Linked DNA regions of Homo sapiens: region 1 is linked to region 2. Evidence: promoter capture Hi-C in human tissues and cell types (Jung and others, 2019). All regions are on one chromosome and are shown on one strand. Each heading gives the region's core, a stretch centred on a gene start or on the middle of the fragment in contact. The rest is flanking DNA. Distances are from core to core; before and after follow the strand shown. Region 1 overlaps ARID4A (AT-rich interaction domain 4A). Region 2 holds the start of TOMM20L (translocase of outer mitochondrial membrane 20 like).

Region 1 (4,360 bases), core at 283-2,782, 64 kb before region 2:
CATTGCTTAATTTGGGTGTTGAGGAAGCATTTTGGCTCATAGCATAGTGTGTAAATCAGAACTAATTCTTAGTAAGAGATTACAAGAAAATACTTTTCAGGTTAGTTAATCAACAAGTGCAAACTGGTTTTTTTGGGGTCTTTTCCAAAACAACCCAGGAGGGAAAAAAATGTAATTTTTAGGTATTTTATATGTGTAACTCATTTAAACTACTACCATATGAAGTAACTGTTGTTATCCTACTTTAAAGGTAAGGAAAGGGAGATTCAGAAAAGTTAAGTAACTTTCCCAAGCTGGCACAACTAAAATGGGTAGAAGAGGGATTTGTACTCAGGTCTGGCCTGTCTCAACTTTAAAACCTCTTTCAGACATTTCACAATATTTCAAGGATAATTAAGGTTAAAAAAAATCCTATCCAAACCCCAAAGAAAATTTCATTTGGCAATTTGATAAATCATAGAAAATATTTAGATTATATGTTCTAAGTGCTAATGGTTTTCTTTATAATATTGCCATGTCATTTATAATATGCATATAATTGTAGGAAATCATCCATGGAGTACTTCATGATTGCTTATATGAATACTGTTGTTTATTCTGCAGTGTTGTATCAAATGGGATAAACTGTCTAGTACATTTTTGGTTGTTACGGGGTAAAAGGGTTTAGGGGCAAGACAAAGACAATGAATTTACTGAAAAGGGGGACCTATTTGAGCATGAAAAATATTGGCCTGGAAAAATGTGGGATTCTTGTTTCTGTTTTAAATACACAAATATGAATTTATGAAATGAAACGAGTATAGTCATATGTAATGAAGGGCATACGCTATTTCTTTCCTTTTACTTCCCCTGCAGTATTTGGTTTTTTTACACTCTGAAATCAGAATGGCGGTTCATACTTACAGGCTGCCTACAGAGTTGCCATAGTAACGTGCTGTTGGTTTTAAGTGAGCATGCTCGGAAAGACAGGAAGGTTTAGCAGAGGCTTGGCAGTTTGCCAATGGAGGTTTGCCAGATGCTTTGAAATGGGCTGTCTTTCTTTTCCTTTCATGTAATGTCTGATTTTTATGTGGAAGAGAATGTAAGTAGTGCTGTATAACCCTGCGGATGCTATGCCCTAAGAGGGAAAGCAAATATTTGCAAGTCAGACTGAAAAATGTCCAGACCCTGTACTGATTAAGTAGAAGGGGAATCTAACCACTTTGCATTTGAAAGAAAATGCAGCATATAGGTAAGATTTTTTTGTGTGTTTAGTTACCATTTTGATTGCCAAAAACGGGATTAAATAAGAATTTTAGGTATTGATGATGTAGCTGATAGGGAAGGACTCAGAACCAAGCGATATTCTTTCTTGTAAAAAAGACAGTAGGAGTCTATTTTTAGAATATCAATGGATGAAGGCTATTTTTCTGAAACAAGATAGATTCTGAAATGAAAATGATAATGAGACAGTTTGGCAAAATTCAGGATTTAAAGTCAGAATATTAAATGTGATTTTTGTATTTTATCTGTATTTATTTATAGATTATATGTTTTCAGGCTAATTAGGCCACATTTTCAGGGTGTGAACTGTTGCAAATCTGTGATTTAGCTTTTGTTTTTTAAATTAACCTTAGGATCTTATATTGTCCAATATTGAAGAAAGATTAGTCCCTTTATTTTTGCTAATACTTTTAATTGCTGTCCGTTCCAGAATGCATTTTCCCTACCCCCCCCCCCCCAAAAAACCCTGAAATTTTAAACAAAGAGGGTAAAAAGAGCTTTGTAGGAAGTGGCAGAGGGAGATTATAAAATAGTAAATTGTAAGTAGTGCTCTTATTACAATGATTAATTTCATAAATATTGTAATGTTTTATTCAAGCTGTGAGTATACGTTAGTATAAAAGAATGAAGAGCAGAGGCAAAGCTCTGTTACCTATTGTTTGCAGGTAATAGTAAATAAATTTTTAAAGATAAGGAAGCTTACAAGGATAGTATCTTAAAATGTGTCACCTAAATTATGAGCCTGTTAAAATTAAGTGAATCAGGATGCTTTTCATCTACTGGAAAATAACAGCAAAATTACAGAATTTAGGCACTGATTCATATGATTATTTATTTTTCGGATGGTCAATTTCATAGCATATGTTTTATTGAATTATTAAACTAATTCTTTTTCTCTGGCCATACAGGAAGATTTTCTTGAGTGAAATTTTGTTGCTTTAGAAAAAAATCAGCTGCATTTCTTGCTCTTGGGTTTAAGATTTAGTTGCTGAATCATTGTAACTTCTCTTGAACAGTTATTTTTTAAAAGTGTAATATACTGATAAACTGAAAAGCACTTTATATACAACAAAGAGGAGGGGAATGACTATGATGTAAAATGAATAAAAATCTGATAAGCCATGGCCTACCTGGCTTAGTCATTATGGGCCTTTATCACCATGTAGGTGAGGCTACGCTGTTTTATTACATTACAGATCAGAGTCTTCCCAAAATGTAACGATGCTATGCTTTTCGTGAAGATTCAATGTTGCATTACAATAATCAAAAAGATCTTTTGTAAGGTTCTCTAAACCACTATAACAATACTCTAGTCTGTTATTTGTTGTTTTTAGTATAGCAAGCAAATTTTATGCAGTAGAATCATACAAGTGTTAGATACTTCTGCAGTGTTAATGGGCAGTGAACATTGTTTTTATATTTGATGCTTTGGGTATCTTAACTAGCCTTAATAAGGAGATTTGAGATTCTGTGACTTTACATGAAAGAGCACCTTTTCCACTTAATATTAATTTGAATTCCTAAGTATTGGTAGTTCAGGATTTGAGTACAAGATATAGATCTCATGCTGTTACTGTGTGGGAAAAGATTGAGGATCTGACAGAAAGTAGGTTTTATCTATATTGATTACTTTAAACTTGAACTCAATAATTATATTGAAAAAATCCCTGGGGGATATTTTTATGGGTATTACTTAAATGTTTTTGTTAAGAAAATTTTGTATTAGAAAAGATATTACTGGATTTTTCACCTTTGAAATTGATCAAAAAGTCCATGTAAACATAAGTAATCATATCAATTATTCATTTATTCCTGATTTATATTTACTTTGGATAAATATAGGAGAGTTTTCTAAGGGTAAAATAAATGGATGGTTGTTTAGAAAACTTGAGTATTAAGGGGAATGTGACCAGTGTTAGCTTTTAAAATCATTTTGGCTTATAATAAGTAGGCTTATAGGTTGGGCCCTTTTAAAAATTTCCTATTTAGTAATGAAAATTTGAATTCAGTGAATTTTTAAATAACTACTGCCATTTCTGTAATACTGGGAATTGTTTAGGGACCACTGATACATTAATGCCTAAGATTATATTCCAGTATTGTAAAAAATCATAAGTACTTGAGTTTGTTTACTCATGGAAACATGAATATTATTTTTGATGTTTAAATCATATTATTTGTGCATATTTATGCCTTGTAGATTGTAAAGGCATTTGTTGGTGGTCATTCAAGATTACTTTAGGTATAAACTTACAGTAAATGCTGGATAACTTAGGAAATCCATGCTAAATTGGTGGAATTTAAAGAATATTTTAAATGTAATGTTAATATTTTAAGTATATCTAATAACTTAAGTTGCCAATGAAGCATTTCTAAGCAGATCCTAAAAAGCCAACCTTCCATGAATAATTGGGACTTTAGCTTGCAATCATATATGACAACTGACTTGCTAAAATCTTAAAGTTTAGCCCATTAAGCAAACAAAAATGCCCTTATGTATTTAGCAGAGTCTTTCTTCACAGTGTTAGTGTAAGAGTCTAACCCAGTTAGGGTCATCTAATCAGATTAATGAGGATTCCACATTTGTACACAAAAATATAGCTACATACAGCTATATTTTTATGTATTAAGAAAACACTTTTATATCAATGCATTTTATAGTTGTGGTCATATGATATAGTTGACTTGTACTAAAAATCTTGGATTTGATAGCATTTAAATGACATCTTGATGATTAAAATGTGTACCTTTTCAAATGGGGAAAAATTACTAGGCTCAGTTAACTGATAAAATACAAGAATCATGTAATCATTTATTTTAGGCAGGCTGTTGTTAAAACTGTTCTCTGAAATTATAAGTGCCTTACTATGAATATATCATCTCTTATGTGAGCCCTGAAATTTTCTGTAGGTGTAAAACAGGAAAGAATAGTACCACTCTAAATTTTATGATTACCAAATTCCACTGGGCCTTCAGCACTATTGGTCAGTTCCCAATTTCTGTAAGCAAATCATTATTTCCTCCATTAAACCAATAATCCTATACCCACTCCACACAACTTCATAAAGAAATTGGGAGCTTCAGATGCGAGCATGCT
Region 2 (4,673 bases), core at 783-3,282:
GAAGCTGGGCTAAACCCTTGCCAAGATTCTGAACCAGTCCCTGATCACCAGTAATACTTACAAGATGCTGACACTATCCTCTCCTCTGTGTTTACAATCAGGTTTTCACAATAACCAAGTTCCCTTCTAGAAGACAATTATCATGAGAAAAAACATACAGTACTCAAGAAAGCATGATATGTAACTTACCCCTGCTAACTCTTAAATTTTGAGGGCTGAGGCTACTACTCAGACCCATTGGTTTTTTAATCTATCTACTAATTTATAATTTACCTATCTATCTCTATATATATATATATATATATATATATATATATTTTTTTTTTTTTTTTTTTGAGACAGAGTCGCACTCTGTTGCCCAGGCTGGAGTGCAGTGGTGTGATTGATCTCAGTTCACTGCAACCTCCCCGCCTCCTGGGTTGAAGCAATTCTCGTGACTCAGCCTCCCAAGTAGCTGGGATTACAGGCTTGTGCCACCATGCCCAGCTAATTTTTGTATTTTAAGTAGAGATGAGGTTTCACCATGTTGGCCAGGCTGGTCTCAAACTCCTGACCTCAGGTGATCCACCCACCTCGGTCTCCCAGTGCTGGAATTACAGGCGTGAGCCAACACGCCCAGCCACCTATGTATTTTTATAGAGACAGGGTCTCATTCTGTCACCCAGGCAGGAGTGCAGTGGCAGTGATCAGAGCTCACTGCAGCCTCCAACTCCTAGGCTCAAGTGATCCCTGCAGAGTAGCTAGGGCTACAGGTGCACACCACGACCAGTATTTTTTTGTTTTGTTTTATCGAGACGGAGTCTTGCTCTGTTGCCCATGCTGGAGTACAGTGACACAATCTCAGCTCACTGCAACCTCCGCCTCCCGGATTCAAGCAGTTCTCCTGTCTCAGCCTCCCAAGTAACGGATTACAGGCACATGCCACCACACCCAGCTAATTTTTGTATTCTTAGTAGAGACAGTGTTTCACCATGTTGGCCAGGCTGGTCTCGAACTCTTGACCTTGTGATCTGCCTGCCTCGGCCTCCCAAAGTGCTGGGATTACAGGCATGAGCCATTGTGCCCGGCCCTTGTTTTGTTTTTTTAGAGATGGGTTCTTGCAATGTTGCCCAGGCTGGTTGGTCTCCAAGTCCTGAGCTCAAGTGATCCTCCCACCTCAGCCTCCCAAAGTGTTGGGATTTCAGTTGTGAGCCACTGCACCTAGCTAGACCCACTGGTATTCAGAGCAGTGATGAGCACCTTGCTATGCACACACTAGTAATAACAGTAAATTGTAAATCAGTAAATAGCAATTGTATAACCTAAATAAAAATGAATTATCTAGTTCTTTAGGTCCCTAGCTTATGCCTTTTCTCCTCCTTAGTAGAAAAGTCAGAACTCTGGTATTTAGGACAAAGTCTTACCTTCTTTCTTTCTGCTGTGTCCGCTGAGTAAGGCAAATATTAGAAAAGCAGCTAGGCCAGTATCATGGGACTCTCAGTTGTTTTTGCTTTGGGACCTTTGACTGTCAGTCTCAGCCCAGCAATTTAACGTATTTTTCTAGATTAAACAGTGTTGCTTCTGAATTCCTCCCTTGGACCTTGGACTGCTGGGTCCTTTCAGGAGACAAAGGATACCAGATTGGGGAGTACGGGCTACTGTTAGACAATGTGAACTAGGAGGTGACCAAAGTTGACCTTAGAGTCAACTTAATTTTGCAGGTGAGGGAACAGAGACCTAAACGACCACTGGCTCCCAGTAAAGCAGATTCGCAGCATACTGTGCTTTGCCTGAATGGGTGTTGTAGACACAGGGGCAGAGGCGTGTTTGGAGAAAGGGTTCAGAATTTGGAGTGCGACAGACGTAGGTTCGAACAGAGCTCTGCTACTCTGTGGCTGTGAGGGCTCCCGCACACACCCTCTCGAACGCTCGGCTTCCTCATCGGTCCGCAAGCCTGGGTGCGAGGCGTCAACGCGCAGCTGGGTGCGCAGGAGGCCCCGAGGCCGGATGGGCCGCCGCGCCGACGCCCCCTGCCGGCCGGCCCGCGCCCAACGCTCGGCTTGTGGGACGCCCGCGGTCGGATGCCCTCCGTCCGCTCCCTCCTCCGCCTCTTGGCCGCCGCGGCGGCCTGTGGCGCCTTCGCCTTCCTGGGCTATTGTATTTACCTCAACCGGAAGCGGCGCGGGGACCCCGCGTTCAAGCGCCGCCTGCGGGACAGTGAGTGGGACCGAGGCGGAGGCGCGGCCGGGCCGGGCAGCGCGGGCGGGCTGCCGGCCGGGAGGGCCCCCCACTGAGAGGCCGGGCCGTGAGTGCCTCAGCCTCTGCCGAGGGGCCCGCGGCGCCCGGGCAGGCAGGACCACTGGGCCCACGCGTGCCTCTGGACGGGCCTCCCAGCCAGCATGTGCCGTGTTGTGTTCGCAGAAAGAAGAGCAGAGCCTCAAAAGGCTGAGGAGCAGGGCACGCAGGTGCAGTGCTTTCGATCCGCACAGGTAGCTCAGTAGACGCAGGTCCGGGCTCGCTGGGTTGCTTGGCTCCTGGCGGGCTCGGCAGCAGGTAGTTAGTTCCCTCAGCCGCCCGTGCCCGGGAAGAGGCCTGCCCTCGCGCGCCACGCACCGCCTCAGGCCCAGTCACTCTCCTCTCACAAAAGGGAGGGAAGGAAGGAGGAAGAAGTTGGAGTTATAAAAAGGCAGCTGCAAAGCAAAACACTGTACAACAGGCACTTCTTTTAACTGGAAGAAGGAAGAGGAGCCTTTTGCCCTGTCAGAGCCGCACAGGACACTTAAAAACCCAGGCTGGCCACGGTCACATGGCAGTAACTTCTAGATTGTTCTCCCGCAGGGCCTTTCTTGTAGCTCAGAAGCAGAAGGCATCTTCGTGTTTTGTAAATCTCTGCGGCAAAATTTGATTAGTCCCTTTTTTGTTGTTTTTAAGAGGCGGGCCGGGCTTGGTGGCTCACGCCTGTAATCCCAGCACTTTGGGAGGCAAGGCGGGCAGATCACGTGAGGTCAGGAGTTTGAGACCAGCCTGGCCAACATGGTGAAAGCCTGTCTCTACTAAAAATACAAAAATTAGCCGGGAGTGGTGGCGTGTGCCTGTAGTCTCAGCTACTTGGGAGACTGAGGCAGGAGAATTGCTTGAGTCCGGGAGGTGGCAGTTGCAGCCTGGGCGACAGAGCAAGACACTGTCTATAAAAAAAGAAAGAGACAAGGGTGTTCCTATGTTGCCCAGGCTGAACTAGAACTCCTGGCCACAAGCAATCCGCAGTTGATGCTGGATGTTTACTTAGCTGAGATTGTTAGCCAGAGCACCTACACGTCTGTGTGATCTGGGATTCTTCATTTGTGTGATGGGCTGTGTCCCAAGGGACAAGCAAACACATATATGTATGTGTGTATATATATGTGTGTGTGTGTGTGTCTGTGTATAGAGAGAGCACGCACATGCATGTGAACTAGAACATGTGCCCATGTGGAAGAGCAGATGGTACCACTTCTGGCAACATTGAAGCCTACTCAATTTAAAGGGAGAGGAAATAGATTCTACCTCTCAACAGGGATGGCAAGGTTTTGAAAGCACTTGTGTGACCGGGAATATTGCGGTAGCCATTTTTGAAACATGCAGTTTTTCCGGAGAAGACTTTGTAGCGGAAGTGGCATTGAACTGAGCCTGGAAGGATGATGAATTTGTGGCTTGGTTTCAGGGGAGAGGATACAGGATGGAGGGAACAGCATGTGCATAAAGATGCAAAGTGGGGCATCTGCCAAGCACATTCAGTAAACCAGTTTGGCAAAGGAGTCATACTGAGGAATAGTGGGTGGTAAGGTTGGAGAGCGAAAGTAGGATTGAATTAGGGAAGGCTTGCTTTGAAGGCCAGGTTAAGGAACTGAGATTCAATGGAGGAATTACTGAAGATTTCTAAGCAGGAATTTTTTAAAAAGAAGGAAAGAAAGGCAGAAGAGAAATATTCTTAGATTGATCAAGCAGGAGTGTACTTAATGGATTGGAAAAGAAAACAAGCTATTGCAGCAATTTAGTTGAGAGGTAATAAAAATCCTGAACTATGGTGGTGGTAGTGGTAACTGGGAAGAATACAGTTCATGCCGACTGAGTAAAGGGTAATGGAGAGGCGGAGTCAAAGACACTTCCGGGGTTTCAAAATGGAATCACAGTAGAGAATAAAAGCCCATTTGACATAGTTAGCTGGGTAGGGAGTGTCCAAAGAGCTGGACATGGGAGTGGAGATACCTTCCCTGACTTGACTGAGACAGAGCCTGATACAGCTCCATGTCCCTCGTCATTGTCCATGGTTTCACTTGCACATTTGTGTAATTATTTGATTAATGCTTTCCGTTTATTACACTAAGCTGTGTGAGGGCAGACTTTGTTTTTTACTCTCCATTGTTTCCAGTGCCTAGAACAGAGTCTAGTGCGGTAGGTGCCCAGCAAATGTTTGTTGAATATTGTTGTTCATTGTAGGCAGAGGGAAACACCTTGTGCAGAGGCACAGAACATGAAATTGTAATGTTCAAGGAGTATTATGGCCAGAGAGATAGCTGAGGGTCAGTTTAGTGTCTTACCGTGGAGGACTTTGAATGCCAAACTGAAAAGTCAGGACATTTTTCTGTTGTGGTGGATAACTAATGATGGTGACTTTATTTCAGAGAACAGACACAATTATTTTGGTTTTATTTTTT

What was found. Contacts are between HindIII fragments. The study calls those that stand out against the background at their distance.
Region 1: a contact is called between a fragment that was not itself captured here and the fragment with the promoter of TOMM20L in region 2, in 2 of the 25 tissues and cell types used here (aorta and bladder).

The regions. Positions count from the first base shown.
Region 1 is chr14:58,330,288-58,334,647 of GRCh38, forward strand. The region is part of intron 11 of ARID4A (AT-rich interaction domain 4A); the gene reads left to right. Among named protein-coding and RNA genes, the nearest start is that of ARID4A, 34 kb to the left of the region's middle. RefSeq lists an enhancer at 1,104-1,153. The HindIII fragment of the contact is 5,123 bases long and covers 1-4,094 here.
Region 2 is chr14:58,393,898-58,398,570 of GRCh38, forward strand. It overlaps TOMM20L (translocase of outer mitochondrial membrane 20 like), which reads left to right and starts at 2,033. Exons shown (of 5, transcript NM_207377.3): 1 at 2,033-2,196; 2 at 2,401-2,444. The coding sequence starts at 2,061. It overlaps TOMM20L-DT (TOMM20L divergent transcript), which reads right to left and starts at 1,808. Exons shown (of 2, transcript NR_187161.1): 1 at 1,404-1,808. RefSeq lists silencers at 1,841-2,360, 2,431-2,480. The HindIII fragment of the contact is 11,412 bases long and covers 1-4,673 here.